Regions from separate parts of the Homo sapiens genome. Here region 2 is linked to region 1. The links are contacts of gene promoters, found by promoter capture Hi-C in human tissues and cell types (Jung and others, 2019). All regions are on one chromosome and are shown on one strand. Each heading gives the region's core, a stretch centred on a gene start or on the middle of the fragment in contact. The rest is flanking DNA. Distances are from core to core; before and after follow the strand shown.

Region 1 (2,715 bases), core at 16-2,515:
AACCTAATTGTTTCCCTGCGATTTAGGTCAGCCCTTCCCCCTCCATTCTACAGCTAGGTGGGAGTCTGAGAAGCAAACAATGAGTTGACAGGTTATAGCCCTTAAAGGGAAACCAGCAGCCATTCCCCGGAACCGGAGGCTCGAAAAAGCCCAAGTTCGAGGGAACTCATGAGTAGGATGAATGATTTCCCTGGATAACGGGATAGATGGAACTGAGATACTGCCTCTCTTCCAAATTTAAGGCAATTGTGGACGGATGGGCAAGAAGGCGACAGGCACCGCTGGAACAGGAGCCCAGGGAGTAGGTACCACGAAAATGCAGGCTCCTCCCTTCCTTGTAGGCGCGCCCCGCATCACCTACAGGGGAGGGGGCGGGGCGGGGAGCCCCCGAGGACTCAAGCTGGGGAGCGGCGTGCACTGCCGGCGGCCGGCGCATCCTGGGCCCCACGCCCTACCTGGGCCGTGAGGGGAAACAGCAGCAGCAGCGCGCAGGCAGGCGCTGGCACCGAGCCCAGAGACTCCTCTTCCAGCCCCAGCACGTCCACGAAGCGCCACTGGCCGGCGACCCCCAGCCGGGACAGCACCTGCGGAGAGGAGACAAGGCGGCCAGGCGCACGGGGACACGCGGGTCGCGGGCACCTGCCAGGGGGCGGGGCCAGGAGGCGCGCGCCCTCCGCGCCCGCACCCGAGCCTGGGAGGAGCCCCAGTCCCGCCCTGCCACCCCCACCCGGGCCGGCGCAATGACACAGCACAAAGCGCGGCCCACACGTGGCGCCCGCGAAGCCCGTGCAGCCGAGTCTGTGCTGCCCGCGCCACGCCCTCGGGAGCTCCGCCTGGCGCTCGCTCGCCACGGGGCGCAGCCCCCTCCGTCTCCCCGTGACCGGTTTCGTAGAGTCACCCGCTAAATGCAGGGGCCCAGGAAAGGCGCCCAGCCCACGCCCCAGCCCGGCCGTCTCCGGTGCTCGCAGCGGGCGGCTTGGTCCCTGCCAGCAGCCGGAACCGGTGGGCGCCCCCGCCTCGGCGCTCGCGGGGGAGGGGGCCAGAGACGGCGCGAGACGCCACTCACTTTGTTCAGCATCTGAAAGGCAAATGCAAAGAAAAAGGCAAAACCGAACCGATCAGCGACTCGGCTCCCCCTCCCTCGGCCTCGCGCTCTCCGGGTAGCGGTGCACCTGGCGCTCACCTCGGGGTTGATCTCCATCGGCTTGAGCTGCATCTTCGCGGAGCGCCCGGCAGAAATAGCCTAGGGAAGACGAAAAACAGCTAGCGGAGCCGCCCAGGCTGCAGCTATAAAGCGCCGGCCAGACGCACTGTGAGGCCTGTGCAGGGGGAGCAGGGGCAGAACCAAGCGAGGGGGAAACGGACGGTCGCGGCCAGATGGGTACGAACCCCCCGTGCGCAGCGCGGAGTGGTACGGCCGGGCCCCCAAACCTTGCAGTCTCACTCGCCGGTGAGATAATCTGGTGGTTGTGGAGACGGGATTTGTTGGTGGGTGTTCCTTGAGTGTATGGAGCAGTCCTTTTGATGGAGTCTTTAATTTTGGGCGAAGTTTCTGGAAACCCATCCTTTCACCATCCCAATTACTCTAAAGCTCGAGTCTCTGAAGCATTTGAGAAAAAGCACAAATTCAACAGGTATATATTTAATACGAATGAATGTAAATGTGTGCCCCCCGCCCCAAATCTCTCAGCAGTTTGCGTTTAACCTTAGACAATTCCTCCTCCATGTTAAGTCAGACCAGTACCGAGGTTCGTTTTTAAGTGACTACCTAGAATAAAACAGAATCTGGTAGATAACAGATACTGCATTAGGAATGCTGATGTAATGTGACTCCCGCGGAAGAAATGGTTGGTCCTGGGAGAGCAGTAGAAAGCTGGGGGATGTGAGGGTAATACAAGACACAAAGAAGGCAGGCGATTGGAGACTTGAGAAAACAGATCCAGGGAAAAGATGGGTATGATTTTGAGCGAGAGGCTGTAAAAGGAAAAGCATTTTTAAAAGAATGGGAAGCTTTGAAAAATAAAATGTCTGAGTTCACCGCAGAATACTCCCAATGAAGAAGAAAGGGAATGGCAACCAAGGAAACCACTGTTCTCTAATGATCTCAGGTGATCTCTAATGATCTCTAGTCAAAAGATGGAGAGAGAAAGCATTTGCTGAAGAATGAATTTTAAAAGGGACCAAAATCTATAAGAATTGTGCCAGGAAAGCTAAGCTGCAGAACAAAGTGGGCTTGCAGAAATACTTAGGTAGCGAAGGAAGCAAGAAGGTTGAGTATTTTTTAAAAATAGGCACCGAAGAGAATAATGATGATGGTAAAAGAATAGACCTTCTATTTAGGAAGTTGAGGTTAACAGATGACAGAGGGAAGGGAGGGAATCAACATTTTTTGAGTTATTGTTTTTGGGGATCCTTTGCATGTGTCTCTCATTTAATCCTTAGAGGAGCCGTGAAGAGACTCATATTAGTGCAATTTTACAGATCAGAATCCCAGGCCTAGAGAAGTTAATTTGCTTACGGTCACAATTGAAAAGTAAAACTGAGAAGTAAACCCTGCTAAACTGGGCTCCAAGAGCCCATTCTTTATCTAAGATTCCACAACATTCTACTTCTATTTTCTTTCCATTTTTGCCATTAGAAAATGACCTTCACACACAAAAATGAGAGAGAAAAAAATTAGTAAGAGGAGCTTAATGGGTGAATCTTATGGTATGT
Region 2 (2,700 bases), core at 37-2,536, 150 kb after region 1:
ACTCAGCCCATCCCACCTCTGCTGTGAGAAAAGCATTTCCATCTGTTTCAACTTTCCTGTGGTTCTGTTGACCCACTTGGAAGAGCTCCAGTGTAGTGCCTGCTGGTTTTTTTCTATCTGCCCTTAATTTGGTTTGCCTTTTATTGTATTCCAACTGAACGGATTCTTTCTCTTTCTTTTAAGGGAAAGGACCTGAGAAAAACAATACTTGTAATGGCGACTGCTTGTTAAGGGTAATTGCTGTTTCATGTTAATTTGCATGTTAAAATGAGAATATAGGGAATTGCTAAATTCACCAACCTGTTCTATCCCAAGGCTAGTCCTTTTAAGTATATTTGTTGCTTAAATAAAGATGGAGCTATGCAGAATGGAAATGTCCAAATATGCAGTTTTTTTTGTGCATGTATATATAGAGAGAGCATTTAAAATTTTTATTTCCATCAGCAAGAGTCATTATACAATACATGGAAATTACAGAAAAGCAGAAAGAAGAAACCCAGAGACAACTAGCATTAACATTCTGTGAAATTATGTCTAGTCATTTCAATCTACATGTTATATACTCTTTAAATGGGAATAGTTTCACTATAACTGTCTAGAACTTTTTGCTACTCCAAAGAATGTTCTGTGGATCAGCAGCATTGCTATCTCTTGGGAACTTGTTAGAAATGCAGAATCTTGGGCTCCACCACAGACATACTGAATCATAATTTTTATTGATTGCTATTACATATACATTAAAATTTGGAAGCACTCTTCTGCAAATGGGGTCCCCAACCCCTAAGTTTTGGAGTGGTACCATTCTGTGGTCTGTTAGGAACAGGGCTGCACAGCAGGAGGTGAGTGGCAGGTGAGTGAGGAAAGCTTAATCTATATTTCCAGCTGCTCCTTATCTCTTGCATTACTGCCTGAGCTCCGCCTCCTGTCAGATCAGCAGCAGCATTAGATTCTCATAGGAGCACAAGCCCTTTTGTGACTTGTGCATGCGAGGGATCTAGGTTGCCCACTCGTTATGAGAATCTAATGCCTGATGATCTGGTACTGTCTCCCATCACCCCCAGATGGGATGTCTAGTTGCAGGAGAACAAGCTCAGGGTTCCCACTGGTTCTACATTACAGTGAGTTGTATAGTTACTTCATTATATATTACAATGTAATAATAGAAATAAAGTGCACTATAAACATCATGCATTTGAATTATCCTAAACCCCTCCAACCTCCCCTCACCCTATTGGGGAAAAATTGTCTTTCACGAAACCAGTTCCTGGTGCCAAAAAGGTTGGGGACCGCTGCTCTAGAACATACTATACCCAGGGCAGCATGTAGAGAGAACACAAAGTAGAGGGGATGCAAAGGGGCTCAGACCTATATTCTCTTCTCCATTTTCTGTCAGTCTTGCCTAAAATAATTTTTGTCAGTACATGATAAGGATAAAAATGAGGTCTTTTTTTTTTTTTTTTTGAGACAGAGTCTTAACTCTGATGCCCAGGCTGGAGTGCAGTGGTGCGATCTCGGCTCACTGCAACCTCTGCCTCCCGGGCTCAAGTGATTCTCCTGCCTCAGCCTCCTGAGTAGCTGGGATTACAGGTGCCCGTCACCACACACAGCTGACTTTTATATTTTTAGTAGAGATGGGGTTTCACTGTGTTGGCCAGGCTGGTCTCGAACTCCTGACCTCATGATCTACCCTCCTCAGTCTCCCAAAGTGCTGGGATTATAAGCGTGAGCCACCGTGTCCGGCTGAGGTCAAATTTTTTAACAGGGTACGACAACCTTGTTGAGAAACACGACTGTGCCATGTGTAATCATTTCACTCAGTAAACACTAAGTGCCTCCTGCGTGCCAGGCACATGTGTGGCAGCCACGGGCCTTGCATTCCGGCTTGCATGTGCTGCAGTGGAAACATACAGAGGCCAAGGAGGAGGGAGTGGTTGCTTCTGCAGGGATGGGGGCTGTAAATTAGAAAGAAAGGTGGTCTCTGGGTGGAGTCTTGATGGATAAATCAGTTATCATAAGTTATGAGTATTACCAGGTTCTGGAGAGAACACAAAGATGATAAAATTTGTCTCATCCTTCAAGGACCTTATGCTTGGTTAAAGGACAGGAGACAGTGTTTAAAACTAAATAATACAAAGCACCTTGATATTAGGGTAGAACCAGAAGACAAGGGTCTGAACATTAATTTTTTAGCTCCGTGACCTTTGACAAATTATTCCACATGTTGGAACATCCGATTCTTCTGTAAAATAGGGATAAAATGATATAAACACCTTTATAAAATCATATTGCTTTCTTGGCCAGGCGCAGTGGCTCACGGCTGTAATCCCAGCATTTTGGGAGGCCGAGGCGGGCAGATCATGAGGTCAGGAGATCAAGACCATCCTGGCTAACATGGTGAAACTCCATCTCTACCAAAAATATAAAAAATTAGCCCAGTGTAGTGGTGGGTGCCTGTAATCCCGGCTACTCGGGAGGCTGAGGCAGGAGAATGGCGTGAACCTAGGAGGCGGAGGTTGCAGTGAGCCAAGATCACGCCACTGCACTCCAGCCTGGGTGACAGAGCGAGACTCCATCTCAAAAACAAACAAAAAACAAAACAACCAAAAATTAGCTGGGCGTGGTGGCACGCCCCTGTAGTACCAGCTACTTGGGAGGCTGAGGCAGGAGAATTGCTTGAACCCGGGAGGTGGAAGTTGCAGT

Evidence for each region. Contacts are between HindIII fragments. The study calls those that stand out against the background at their distance.
Region 2: a contact is called between a fragment that was not itself captured here and the fragment with the promoter of UCHL1 in region 1, in 1 of the 25 tissues and cell types used here (pancreas).

The regions. Positions count from the first base shown.
Region 1 is chr4:41,255,478-41,258,192 of GRCh38, reverse strand. UCHL1 (ubiquitin C-terminal hydrolase L1) reads right to left here and starts at 1,265. Exons shown (of 9, transcript NM_004181.5): 1 at 1,184-1,265; 2 at 1,067-1,078; 3 at 456-584. The coding sequence starts at 1,216. UCHL1-DT (UCHL1 divergent transcript) reads left to right here and starts at 1,466. Exons shown (of 3, transcript NR_102709.1): 1 at 1,466-1,634. RefSeq lists an enhancer at 55-555 and a silencer at 390-1,149. The HindIII fragment of the contact is 4,741 bases long and covers 1-2,715 here.
Region 2 is chr4:41,109,365-41,112,064 of GRCh38, reverse strand. The region is part of intron 2 of APBB2 (amyloid beta precursor protein binding family B member 2); the gene reads left to right. Among named protein-coding and RNA genes, the nearest start is that of APBB2, 100 kb to the left of the region's middle. The HindIII fragment of the contact is 3,391 bases long and covers 1-2,700 here.